Linked DNA regions of Homo sapiens: all the other regions are linked to region 3. The links are contacts of gene promoters, found by promoter capture Hi-C in human tissues and cell types (Jung and others, 2019). All regions are on one chromosome and are shown on one strand. Each heading gives the region's core, a stretch centred on a gene start or on the middle of the fragment in contact. The rest is flanking DNA. Distances are from core to core; before and after follow the strand shown.

The links. The method cuts DNA at HindIII sites, captures the fragments that hold promoters and counts their contacts. A contact is called where the count stands out against the background at its distance.
Region 1: a contact is called between a fragment that was not itself captured here and the fragment with the promoter of ADIPOR2 in region 3, in 1 of the 25 tissues and cell types used here (lymphoblastoid cells).
Region 2: a contact is called between a fragment that was not itself captured here and the fragment with the promoter of ADIPOR2 in region 3, in 4 of the 25 tissues and cell types used here (IMR-90 fibroblasts, aorta, hippocampus and 1 more).
Region 4: a fragment that was not itself captured here is called in contact with the fragment with the promoter of ADIPOR2 in region 3 in 1 of the 25 tissues and cell types used here (aorta).
Region 5: a fragment that was not itself captured here is called in contact with the fragment with the promoter of ADIPOR2 in region 3 in 1 of the 25 tissues and cell types used here (spleen).

What each region holds. Positions count from the first base shown.
Region 1 is chr12:2,014,013-2,016,712 of GRCh38, forward strand. It overlaps CACNA1C-IT1 (CACNA1C intronic transcript 1), which reads left to right and starts at 2,659. Exons shown (of 3, transcript XR_001749433.2): 1 at 2,659-2,700. It also overlaps a transcript of CACNA1C not described here. The HindIII fragment of the contact is 3,786 bases long and covers 1-2,700 here.
Region 2 is chr12:1,953,391-1,956,090 of GRCh38, forward strand. It overlaps DCP1B (decapping mRNA 1B), which reads right to left. Exons shown (of 9, transcript NM_152640.5): 6 at 2,042-2,170. Among named protein-coding and RNA genes, the nearest start is that of LINC00940, 18 kb to the left of the region's middle. RefSeq lists an enhancer at 667-1,866. The HindIII fragment of the contact is 3,737 bases long and covers 1-2,700 here.
Region 3 is chr12:1,689,647-1,692,346 of GRCh38, forward strand. It overlaps ADIPOR2 (adiponectin receptor 2), which reads left to right and starts at 1,424. Exons shown (of 8, transcript NM_024551.3): 1 at 1,424-1,545. RefSeq lists enhancers at 927-1,086, 1,107-1,156, 1,240-1,818 and silencers at 1,317-1,616, 1,637-1,726. The HindIII fragment of the contact is 10,259 bases long and covers 1-2,601 here.
Region 4 is chr12:1,343,180-1,345,879 of GRCh38, forward strand. The region is part of intron 15 of ERC1 (ELKS/RAB6-interacting/CAST family member 1); the gene reads left to right. Among named protein-coding and RNA genes, the nearest start is that of LINC00942, 160 kb to the right of the region's middle. The HindIII fragment of the contact is 3,540 bases long and covers 1-2,700 here.
Region 5 is chr12:1,989,478-1,992,177 of GRCh38, forward strand. The region is part of intron 3 of DCP1B (decapping mRNA 1B); the gene reads right to left. It also overlaps a transcript of CACNA1C not described here. Among named protein-coding and RNA genes, the nearest start is that of DCP1B, 14 kb to the right of the region's middle. The HindIII fragment of the contact is 7,991 bases long and covers 1-2,700 here.

The DNA.
Region 1 (2,700 bases), core at 79-2,578, 320 kb after region 3:
TTCCACATTTCCTGTTGGTAATAAATAGCCCTCTCCCAGTGCTTTGACCTTCCCCTGCTGCTATGGAGACTCCTAGGAGCAGTGACCAGGACTGCAGCCAGCCAGGCCCGTGTTATTAACAGGGCTGGCTCCGTGGGCCTTCAGTATTAGTGTATTTATAAACAACCCCAAACACTGAAACCACTGTTTGGTTTTGTTCGCTTTTATTAAAAATTATATGGACTTTAGAAGAAAACAACAAACTGTCAGAAAAATAGGCATCTTTTTTTTTTTTAACCCAAATAAGCCTGTGTTTAGTCTATAATGGGAGAGTTCTTATAATAAGCATAGCAACTCATGGCTCAGCACTTTCCCATGGAGTAGGTAGCAAGTATTGCTTATTCGCTTATGAGATAACCTTTACATTTAATCACTTGTCCATTCAATGAATATTTATGAAGCTCTTACCATGAGACAGGCACCGGGCTAGGAGCTGGGAATATTGCAGTGAACAAGACAGGCACATTCCCTGCCTTCCTAGAACTTAGAGTCTCACGGGGAAAATGGACACATAAGCAGGTAATCAAAATAAAGTGCGTTGAGTGTGAAAAGTTTGGGATGCTATGGGAGCATGGCAGAGGCCCAAGAGAGGCTCCAGTTTCTTTACATGAATTGCCAAGTGTATCGACCTGAAGACACTGTACCTCCTGTCTTTGTGCCTAGACCAGGGTAGAATGGTCCTAAGAGTTAGAGGCTGGTCTCAGTTATTCTTGGACATAAGACTTTTCTGGTTGGCTTGAGCTTTAGGCCTTACAGAGGAGCCAGAGACTTGTCTGGGTAGTGCCATAGGTGTCATGCTAAAGCCACCTTGTCCCCACTGGCCTTGGAGCTAGTCAGACTCAGAGCCTCCCAAGAGCACTGGGAATGGGAGCAATCCCTTCCTGCTCACGGACTGGCAGGTCTTGGCCCAGGGATTCACCTATGCAAATAGTATATCCTTGAGCCACCAGTAGTTTTTACCTGCTCAGCTTTCTCCTGTTCTCCTTCTTGGAGTTTCCTTTCCCAAGAAAACAGACTGGATCTTCTGCTTCTCCAAACCCATCCCTCTGAGGCAGGGCTGAGAAGACCATGTTGCTCTATGAAAGGGCTAGTTTACCAGTCAGGGGACTCTGCTTCTGTACTCTCTCTCCCTTTACCTGGTGCCGAAAGACCATCCTCAATTAGGGCTGACAAGGGGCACCCGTTGGGCTACATTTATCCTCCTTATTCTTAAGAAGCTACAGCTTTTACTTGCTGTACAGCATCTAACAAAATAAGACTGTGTTAGCTTATCCCAGCCCCAAGTTTTCTGTAGTGGAGGCTGAAAACTTCAGGGGAAAGCTGTCTGGAGTCAGATGTGGAGAGTCTAGGAGTCCCCTGTTTGCCAGGGCCTAAGGTGGGAAGTGGAGCAAGGGCAGGGATAATTTGTAGGCATTCAAGCTAGAATTATTGCCAAGATAGGTGGCTTCAGCCACCTCTTTGTACAGAAGAGACTGAAGCACAGAGAAGTGGCTTTTGGGAGGATACAATGGCATAGAGTAGAGAGAGCCTAGGGCGAAAGTTCTCAACCCTGGCCACACTTTAAAATTGCTGGAAGGCATTTAAAAAGAAGCCCCATGGCCAGGGCTCATCCAGAGGAGTTAATAGGATTCTGAAGTTGGGCCCTGGTCAGTCTCAAAGTGATTCAAACAGCAGGCAGAATGGAGAACCACTGGACAGCCTGGTTGGCAGCCTCTGCACTTCCTGGGTTCAGATCTCTCTCAGCTAGTATGGTACTTGGGCAGTTCACCTGTCCTAGGTAAACCTCAGCTTCCTTCTCAATAAAATGAGGTTGCTAATCATATCTATTTGGTAAGATTATTTTTGAGGATTAAACAAGAAAATACAAATAAAGTACCTGGGACATATCAAGCACTTAATAAATACAAATCACTGACTTTGTTATTTGGTAATGACAGAACAGGACTAGACTTCAGGTCTCCGATTTCCAGGCAATGCTCTTTCTACCAGGAGGATTTATCAAGGCTTATAATGACCAATTCAGTGGGAAATGGGGTGCTCCATCTTTAAAATAATTACCTTTATTCAAAAAGACATGAATGACTTCATTTCTTAGTTCGGTGTCTCCTGGTTGAAATCATTCATATATTTGTTCATTTGTTTGTTCTTTGATTTGACAAACATTTCCTGAGTGTCTTATTAGGTGCCAAGTACTTATCAGGTCCCGAGTACTGTCAAACAACAGTACTCAGTACAACAAAATACATCAGTACAACAAAATAAATACAGACCCTGCCTTCCAGGAGCTTAAAGTTTAATGGAGGAGATACACTAAAACTAACTATTGTACAATGTATCAATGTATTGATTGTGACAATGGGTTTGTTTAAAACATTTTTCTTTTTCTTTTTTTTTTGAGACGAAGTTTTACTCTTGTTGCCCAGGCTGGAGTGCAATGGCACGATTTTGGCTCACTGCAACCTCCTCCTCCCGGGGTCAAGCAATTCTCCTGCCTCAGCCTCTCGAGTAGTTGGGATTACAGGTGCTGCCACCACGCCTGGCTAATTTTTTGTATTTTTAGTAGAGACAGGGTTTCACCATGTTGGCCAGGCTGGTCTCAAACTCCTGATCTCAGGTGATCCGCTCCTCTCAGCCTCCCAAAGTGCTGAGATTACAGGCGTG
Region 2 (2,700 bases), core at 91-2,590, 260 kb after region 3:
GGATTGATTAGAGAGAATGAAAAATAATAATAATAAACTTGAAAAATGAGATCCCCTTTTTAATGTCAAAAATTTTCACAGCATGCTCCCCTTGCACCCCCAAAACAGTTATTATATTTTAATATCTGTTGACCGATAAAACAGGTATAAGATCTTCAAGGGCCTGGGGTTTCACAGATTGGGAACCACCTTGGTAGGAAATTATATGCACTAAAAAAATAAACAATCTGTTCAATAGGAAGCCCATCTAAGCCTGCAGAGTAATATGAGAATACAAAGGAATATAAGCATTTCAGAATTTCTAGTAGTTTTTCACAGAATTATGGAAATCAAGGGCTGGAAAGAAACGGAAGACTTTAAATCTAACTTGATCCTTTCAAATATATACTGGTAGGATTTAAAAAGTCCTTGGATACATAAAATCTACCTTGGCCCAGCCAGTTACAAAGCTACTTCCTTCTTGCTCTTTACTTCTGTTGCTTTCTGCATTGTTGCACTGAGAAAACATGAGGCTAGGCACAGTGGCTCATGCCTGTAATTCCTGCACTTTGGGAGGCCAAGGCAGGCAGACTGCTTGAGCTAAGGAGTTCAAGACCAGCCTGGGCAACATGGCAAAACCCCATCTCTACAAAAAATACAGAAATTGCCAGATGTGGCAGCACACGCCTGTAGTCCCAGCTACTTGGGAGGCTGAGGTGGGAGGATTGCTTGAGCCCAGGAGACACAAGTTGCAGTGAGCTGAGATGGTGCCACTGCACTCCAGCCCGGGTAACAGGAATGAAATCTGTCTCAAAAAAAAAAATAAAAGAGGAAAGAAAAAAAACCACAAGCTTCATTTTAAAGTCAACATATTCAGGTCTCGCTATTAAAATATAATAAAAACTTTCCATAAAACAAGCAATAAAAAGAAAGCTAAAAAATTAGAAGACTTCTTTTCTTTAAAAATTCAATATAAGATTTTCATTACTAGTCTTTATGTCTTTTGGCTCCATGTTCATTTTCAAAATTGATATAAACTAATTCCTTTAAGAAAATCTTTTTAATTAGTCATAGTCATGATAAAATGACACAGCAATATTATATTTACAATCATTAATGGGACCTACAGATTGACAATTTTTGTCATTGCTGTACTATTCTGAAGTGTATATATATATATATATACACTAACACAAAAGCTGCTGTAATATTTCTAATTTAGATTGCAAAGACAGTGACAAGTCATCATATCTGAAGAGGAGTTTTATACCATTCCTTTGGACTCTGAGCTCTCGGCGGCAGCTACCCCAGTCTACAGTGCTAGCTCTGCATCTGGCACAGAGGAGGTGCTCAGAAGTGCTCAAATCAACTCTGTGTCCTTGGTGGTTCTCCCAGGTGGCCTTGGGAAGCCACCCACCCCAGAAGAATATGGACCCAATGGGTAATGTTTCTGTCATCTCTGACAATGTTATTAGTTTTCTAGGGTGCTTGTTTGTTTGTTTTTGTTTTCTGAGACATGGTCTTGCTTTCTTGCCCAGGCTGGAGTGCAGTGGCGCATTCCATAGCTCACCGTAACCTCAAACTCCTAAGCTCAAGGGATCCTCCCGCCTCAGCCTCCAGAGCAGCTAGCACTACAGGTGCACGCCATCATGCCTGGCTAATTTTCCTGTAGAGATGGAGTCTCACTGTGTTGCCCAGGCTGCTCTCAAACTTCTGGCCTCAAATGATCCTCTCGCCTCAGCCTCTCAAAGTGCTGGGATTACAGGCTTGAGCCACTGTGCTGGCTTGTTGTTTTTTAAAAAATACATTATCTTTTAAGGAGTTCAAGTTCACAAGAGATTAGCACAGAATGTGGTATATGCCAAAAGTAAAAACTTTAACCCTCTTCTAGGAAGAGTAAGTTATTAATAATGAAAAAATCTGTATTCTGAAATCCCGCTTTCTTGGGTTTACCTGAAAGCATTCTTCAACAACACCAGGCCCTCCCCTGACTATATTCTGGGTCAAAGTTCTTTAAGAATTCTAGAGACACACTGAATATGACAAGCAGAGAACTCCGTACCTGGTTGGGCTGAGGTATACGCTGTTGCTGGTTTTCACTGGGTTTCACTGGAATTGGTTTGATGAGATTTGGATTGTCATAGATGGCAGAGGAACTGGTTATCTTTTTTGGCTCAGAACAGGTTTTACACTGAAATAGAAAAGAAAATCCCCTCATTTTTGGCTTAGAAAAGCTTTAGTCTTTTTAAAAGACTACCTTTTTACTTCTTATCTAATTGGTAGACGGCTGTGTTTTTGATAGATTTTCATGCACAAAGGAAAATCCCTTAAATTTCTCTAAGAGCTATGTTTGAGTATAAATCAAGTTAAAATTTAATTTTTCTTAGTTGGACAATTCAGTGCTCTAAATATTACTAACAACACCAGCCTCCAGGACCAGGGGTTCTTAAGACACCTGTATAATTGAAAGGTTCTGTGCTTAATATATTGACTATACGTTTAAATATATATAGTCTAATGTCTTTCAATGATAAACAAATATAGAAACCATTCCTTAAATAACATGTCTGGACAATTTAAGCAGTTGACTTAAAATTGGAGAGTAGTTGAGTACATTTCATCAAAGTAACTAAATCTTTTTTGGTCTACAAACCAAAAAGCTGACTCAAACCACTGATTTAAAAATTACTAACATCATCTTTATTTAATAAATGACTTCTT
Region 3 (2,700 bases), core at 174-2,673:
ATTCACAATCCAGAAATGCCTGTATTGTTTCTGATGTGCTGAGGAGGTGTACAATTGTCTTCCTTGATTTCAACCTCAAAAGCTTTACATCTTTACCTGGGAACATAGAAGTCATTATTATTATGTCTTTCACAAATTATGTAAACTTAAAAAAATTATATTTTCAATGTAAACCACTCCTTGGAGGAAATTAGTTCCTTTAACATTTATTTCCTAATTTTAATTTCTACTAGTTTTATCTCTTTCAAGCTTAAATGAGTGGGCCTTAGTTCTGTATTATTGCCATCTTAATCATGTTCTTTGTGATTTTAGTAGCTTTACTTTTTAAAACTTACATTTCCATAATGAAGACTTCTGTATTTTTGTTTTTTTCGTCATATATCCGACTCCAGCTCCCTCAAGACCTGTCAGCTTTTCCCTGCACCCTTTGTTATCTCTTGCTGTGGTCCAAAGGTAAGGACAGTAAGCCGTGGGCACAGACTTTCCCTAAATCGTATGGATTTCCTTTAGTCAATAACAAGAATTTTGATAGTTAAGGCATTTACGCCTTAAGAATGTGATAAATTCCCCCTCCTACTGAATGTAAAGAACTATTTTTCTACGCAGACTAACTCTTATATTCACTTTTCTTATAGAATAAGTACGTAACCAAATCTGTTCTTGGCTTCTAAGAAGTTAGAACTCAACGTAAAGATGACTTGTGGAAAATTACTTACTCATTCTGGGTAAATGGACGCAGGTATTTAGTGCTTAAGTAGGTTCTGATATACCATTACATTAACATCATTTTAAAAATCGCTCTGAATTATATGTATTTTAAGAGTGACTGGGTTTTAAAAAAAATAGAAGTGGTAGAGCATAAATCATAATCTTTAATAAGGTAATAAAAGGCAAACACTATTGCTCTGGGCAAAACTGGGCTAATGCTTTTGGATTTCTTTCCGCAGTCTTCACAGACGACGCTCAGCATCCTATCAGCCCTTGGCAGAGACACACGATCCAGCCTAAATCCTCAAATTCTGGCTCTTGCCCAAAGTGTGTAGCCAGTATCCATAGAGACTGCGAAAAGCATCCGCGAGCCGGGGCGGCCCCCTCCTCCTCAGCTCCAAATTGCTTCCTTTTTCGGTGGGAGAAAAAACTCCGAGGAGTTGTGTGAGCGCCTAAGGAGCGCACGCTCCTCCGGCCCTCAACACCCAGTATAGTTTTCGCTAAGTTCCTGGCCGAACCACAGCTCCCACGATGCACCCAGGTTTTAGAGCGGTCAGAGGGGCGGCTTCCGGTTTAGGACAGCGCGGCTGCGCACGGCGTGTGGTCTTATTGGCTCGAACCGCCTCGTGCGATGCGCGTCACGGCGACGTGCGGTCGTGGGGGCGGGGAGACGCGGCGGCGGCGGTCGCTGTCGCGGCGGCGAGAGCGCGATTCCAGAAGCGGCATCGCGGCGGCGGCAGCGGCGGCGGCTACACCGGGCTTGGCCCCCTCCCTCCTCCGTTCCCCCCTCCTCCCCCCTCCCCTCAGCGGTGGCTCCCAAGAAGTCCGAGACACGCGGTGAGGCGGCGACGGGCTCCGGGTGAGGGTCTCTGGAGTGTGGGCGCCGTTTCCTGGGCGCAGAGGGAGAGCTTGGGGTCGGGGGGAGGTGAGAGCTGAGGGGCGAATGTCCCTGGCGCGGGCGGGAGAGCGCGCTCTCGGCCCGGCCCGCAACTTGATTCCTAACTCTGACCTGCCGCCCGGCGCGCCTTGGCCTGAGGGTCGGCCGTGTGGGGACCTGGAGCCGCCCTCCTTGCGACCGCTGTCGGAGGAGTCCGGCGCCCGCTGTTCCCCTCGCCTCGCCTTTCGCGGCGGAGGGTCGGAGCCTGCTGCCCTCTGCTCACCTTCGGGTGCAGTTGCTCCAGCTCCCTGCCCGCGGAGAGGATCTGCCCGCCCCTCTTCGTCTCTTGTCTGTTTTTATCACTTCTAGGAATTTGTTTGGTGGAGGCTTGGGATGGGCTCTCTCAGCGCTACTTTCACAGTGACTGGGGTGGGGAAGAGTTCCCTCACCTTTTTCAGGTGGCGCGTCAGGCAGCCTGCTTGGTACCTGGAGTCCTGTTTTCCCAAGCCCCCGTCCGTCAGTGTTCGCTTCTTCTAAAATTACCGATGACAGGGTTATAAATCAGTTTTTAGGGGGCTCGGAGAGAGTTTGGGTTGGAAACTGTTAGCTCTTTTTTCCTCCTGGCTTTTGATCTTGATTTAAGCGTTTGCCTCTGAAATTTTGACAACTTCATAAGATGGTCCAAAAGTGAATTTTGGTAGAAAGATTTAAATGCACAGTTGGGATTTTATGGGGGTACGGTGACTTCATTGCAGGTTGTTGACTTTTTTTTTAAAATAAGATGTTCTTTTAATTTTTTGACTCTGGGTTTCTGAGCCTTGGTTATTGTCCCCCATTTCTGTTCCAAAAGCAGACTTTTTTTTTTTTTATCACCCCTTCCCCTCACCCAGAGAATCCCTTTAAACGCCAAGAAAGCTGTCATAACATTTAGCATTATTTGATCACAGAACTTTTCCAAATGAAATGCTAAAAATTCCTTCAGAAAAAAGCATCCATCTACCCATAGCATTATTTTTTGGGGGGAGGCTATACGTCTTGTCAGTTCTGAAAGTTTGAAGTGACCTCTTATCAAAGGCCACCCTTATGTCTCCTTAAACGACTCTTAGGTAATTCCT
Region 4 (2,700 bases), core at 141-2,640, 350 kb before region 3:
ACATGAGGCCAGCAGAGCCCTGTGCAAACAGGCATCATAAGCAAATGACCATTTCTTTTCCATTATAGACTTCATCCTTCAAAAGGGAGTGCCATTCGTCCCAACTAGTATTTTCCCCCCTTTTATCTGTGTCACTAATGCTAAATTAGTTCATGGGTCATTCAAATTCTAGCAGCTTTGGTGTTAGTCTTTATATTTCAGTTCCAGTGCTCCGCTGATTATTTTGGCATGAAACTATCCCATACAGTCATCATGCTGCTTTTAATTCAAAAGATTCCTATGAGCTGCACCAGGAATATCGTATCTAGTACAAAAACTGTATGTCTGTTCTTCCCTGAAGCAGATTCTCTTGTAACTTGAGTTTAGTTATCTTAGTATTGATATTGAGTTATTTTTAGAGAGTTCTGTGGTGGTTAGTGGCTCGGTGTTTTCATCAGTCGTTCACTTAACTATCCTTTCGGAACATCTGTGCCACTTACGCTGTCTCACTTCTCACCCAAGTCTTAGATGCTTTTTCATTCTTCATATTACTAGGAAAGATTAAACACATCATATAATGCCAGTGACTGCAGGACTTTCCTTTAAAGCTTCTAAACTACCTGCCAGTATGCTGAAATAAGGTATATTCTGAAGCTTATCGTTTAAATTGTAGATTTCATATGTAAAAACATTTTTTTTTTTTAAGACAGTCTTGCTCTGTCACCCAGGCTGGAGTGCAGTGGCGCGATCTCCGCTCACTGTAAGCTCCGCCTTTCAGGTTCACACCATTCTCCTGCCTCAGTGTCCCGTGTAGCTGGGACTACAGGCACCCACCACTGCACCCGGCTAATTTTTTGTATTTTTAGTAGAGACGGGGTTTCACCGTGTTAGCCAGGATGGTCTCGATCTCCTGACCTCGTGATCCCCCCACTTCGGCCTCCCAAAGTGCTGGGATTACAGGCGTGAGCCACCGCGCCCAGCCTGTAAAAACATTTTCATCTTTGTTTATAAATAAAACATCTGATTATACAACAATACTTTTATGGGACTCAAAGAGGGGAGTCAGGGTTGGGGTGGGGTCTGTCATTTATTTACTTATTTTTAAAAGATACCTGGCCTGGTTCTGTGGCGGTGGCTTTTCTTCGCTAATCATGAGCTGTACTTTGAGTATGCAGTAGATTCCGTCAGCATCTCAGTGGGAGAAAGGGGGGAAAGAGGGGTTTTAACACAGTGTTCTCTTTGCATTGAGTGAAGAAGCTGTTGATCTCTGAAGGAGGAAAGGAGAGACTGGAACCACATGAAGGCTTGTGCTGTGAAACCCTGAAACCCTGACGGTGCCTTTTGATCACTGTGTTTTAACAAAGCTGACAATCCTCAGCCACACAAATCTTGGGAACTAAAATAAGTATTCATTTAACTCTTGACTAAAGGTTAAAAGATACAGTTAAAAAGAAATCTAAAACCCAGAGTGGTAATTCCACTTTTTCTTTCTCTTTCTGTTGTTGGAACCTGAGCTCTCTAGGAAAACTAACATTTGTTAAGGGCCTGCCATGTGCCAGATTCCTGTCTGTAAGAGAGGTATAATTATTATTTTACACTATCTCAATCTTAATAACAACTCCGTTAAGTTTACACATTTATATTTCCATTTGACAGTTAAAATCAAGGAAGTTCAGGAAGCTGCTTGTCTAGGGTCATACAACTAGTAAGCGGCACTGTCCAGCTCCAGAACACATGCTTTTTCTTGTGTATTTTAGTGCTCCTTCAGTCACTTATATGATTTACTTATTTGTTATTCTTTTATAAATTTAAGCAGTAGTACAAAGTAGAAAGAATAAAGAAAAAAACAGCCCCCAAGTCAATTGCCTAGAAAATAATCATTATTTGTAGTAGGTAAGCAGGATTCCTGTCATATTCCTATGCACATATAGAAAAAAATTAACATATAACATGCCATTTTAAATAAAAATTGAATTTAATTTTACTTGACATTAGCAGAATAAAGAGAATTTCAGTAGAATATTTCTTCTTTTTTTTTTTGAGACGGAGTCTCACTCTGTCGCCCAGGCTGGAGTGCAGTGGCGTGATCTGGGCTCACTGCAAGCTCCACCTCCTGGGTTCACGCCATTCTCCTGCCTCAGCCTCCCGAGTAGCTGGGACTACAGGTGCCCACCACCACACCCGGCTAATTTTTGTTCTATTTTTTAGTAGAAATGGGATTTCACCGTGTTAGCCAGGATGGTCTCAATCTCCTGATCTCGTGATCTGCCCGCCTCGGCCTCCCAAAGTGCTGGGATTACAGGCGTGAGCCACCACGCCTGGCCAGAATATTTCTTTACTATAAAGGAGAATTCCTAAGCCATCCTTCCAAGTTTAAGAAAAGAGATAGAGATTGGGGTTATGTTTTACAACAGCATCTTTTATTTTTATTTTAATCAGTATTAATTCATGCCATGCTCTAAAAGATGAAGAAATTATCACTTCTTCTCACCAGTTTTTAATGATATAGTTTTATATCAGCTTTACCAAGGTTTATAATATTTACATCTTATTTTATAACTCCCAGGCTACTTAGTCTGGGAGTTAAATTCAGCACTTAACACCTTTTGCCACATTTTCCCTATCCCTGAATTTTTTGCTGTATCGTTTTGCTTATTTAATTTTATCTTCACTTGACTATTTCAGGAAAGACTGATGCTGAATTCTGGTTTTCTTGTTTTA
Region 5 (2,700 bases), core at 169-2,668, 300 kb after region 3:
GCCAAGGTGGGTGATCACTTGAAGTCAGGAGTTTGAGACCATCCTGGCCAACACGGTGAAACCCTGTCTCTACTAAAAACACAAAAATCAGCCAGGCATGGTGCCATACACCTATAATCCCAGCTACTCAGAGGCTGAGGCAGGAGAATTGCTTGAACTTGGGAGGTGGAGGCTGCAATAAGCCGAGATTGTGCCACTGCACTCCAGCCTGGACAAATAGAGCAAGACTCCGTCTCAATTGAAAAAGCAAGAAAAGAAAGGAATCCCCATGTCATTGCTGTCTATAACTTAAGTATTATATTTGGGAAAATATATTTCCATATGCTAATATCTTATTTAGTTGCGAAATGAAAAACACAGTAAGTGATTACTATATGGGAATATTACAAAAGAAGTGGTCTAATTCAGCTTTTTGTTAAATTAGTTTTTAATCTGGTAAAAACTAATCTCTCTAATAACTGATATATGCTTGAATCTCAAGGCTAAAAAAACTTGCTTTTTAAACCTTGGAGCGTACTCTAAAATAACTAAGTGTTTGTAAATGATAAACTTGGCTCAAATGCATTATTTACTGCTAGTACTTCACTGCTTGGGCCTTGGGTCTCGAAGTTAAGGTTTCTTGGTTCAAGTGGTGTTTCCATCTCAAAATAGTCATGGACCACAGCGTATCACTTAATCCCTTTAACCTTAGTATTCTCATTTATAAAACAGGAATAACAGTATTTTCAAGAAAAAGTTATGGGATAACCCATATAAAACCTGAACATAGTGTTTGGCAGACAGTAAATGTTTGTTGAATAAATGAATGAATGAAATGTTTGCCCTAACTTTAACAGCTATCTTACTTACTTTTAAAGTTCATACAGGTCAAACCCCATTTTAACAATGTTTAAACCCTTTAAACAATGTATAAACCCTTTTCTGTAATAAAGTAATCTATTTTGTGTTTGAATGAAGTTACTCTATTTATCAAGCATCTTTTTTTGGCTGATTAAATGAAGAGAGTTTGGGATTTTCATTTCTTTATTTTGCTCTTCTACATTCATCCAATTCAAGAAAGGGATTTTTTTTTTCTCTCCTAATGAATCTAAAAAACCTCACCACAAACCTCTATCAATTCTACCTTTGTCTATTTGAAATGCCCAAATATGGCCTATGACATACATAAGCCAATGTGAAATGCAAAGACCAGACAGAGAGATTCTTGACTATACAGAATATCTTGAGGAAATAGTCTTACAAAAACAATCCTGAGTAAAGCTGAGTTCCTTGCCCAAAGAAAGGCCAACCAATCTATATGCCACCAAAGAACATGTAAACCATACATAATTATTATATAACATATTTGAATTCTATTAAAACGTTTAAGAGGTATCTGACACTCTGACAGCACCTGTGGTAAACCCTTCTGTGTACCTTTGATGCCCGGGATTGAAAAGGCTTTTGCAAACAACATAAAACCAAATGACTCTGGGTGCAAAGGCAATCAGTATCAGATAGAAAGGACAAAAAAAAAAAAAAGGCAAAATGAATCCAGAAAAGTAAATAGATCCATTCCCTTTCACTCTTTGTTGTTCAACTGATTCTATTTCTTTTGTATGGAAATTCATTAGAAACATTTTAATATGCATCCCAAAGGCTACCTTTAATTTGCATCCATGTTTAATAGTAGAGCAGTACAGGTGGTGTGGAAAAAGCAACGGAAGTGAAATCAGAATCTGTGGGTTTTTACACAGTCTGCCTCCTCACTGGAGTCTCAGTTTCCTCATCTGCAAAATGGCAATGAAAATGTCTACTCCACAAAATTGTGATTATTAAACATGGTAAAATAAATGAAAATCATTATAAAATACGGAAACATAAAATAAAATATGAAAAACAAATTAAAATAGAACAGTGCCATTCAATAGAAATATGAGGGGAACCACGAACGTGAGCCACATCTGTTATTTTAAATTAAAAAATACAAAGAAGCAAGTGAAATTAATAATATATTTTATTTTGCCCAATTTATCCAAAATATTGTCATTTCAACATGTTAATATAAAATAATTAATAATTGAGGTTTTTTCCTTTTTTTTTTGCACTGTCTGACAGTTGGTGCCTGTTGGACACTCACAGTGCAGCTCCGTTTAGACTAGCCACACTTCAGGTACTAAACGGCCACAGTAGTTAGTGACTATCATAGTGGACAGCACACGCTTAGAACCAAGGTGTATGTTTATTAGATCTAAATAGTATTTTCTATCAGATAAACCCTGTGGGACTTAAGAAGGTTATTTTTTAAATTGATGCATTAAAGAGAGTTTGTGTTTTTATATTTTTGGTATAGTAGTTAATATGTGATCTATAATAAGAATTTAAAATAAAATATTACCTATAACTGATCAGACCATGTATTTATCCAAAATAAAAGCAACCAAAAGTGATGATTACAGGTAACTTTGTAGTTATTTTATTAGGACTTAAATTATATATTAATTTGACATAAAATCTAATAATCTCAAAAAAAACCCTGACATAACTATAAGCACACAAAACAATTCAAACTATAAACAATTCAAACTGGCATTTCTGTAGAGAAGGAAAGGGTCCTGGAGTTGGAATTCCAAGTCTTTAGTAATAAACTACAATTGATAAAGTGTACCTTTCGGCAAAGAAACATGAGGAGAAAACACAATATTTTTCTATATTGCAAAA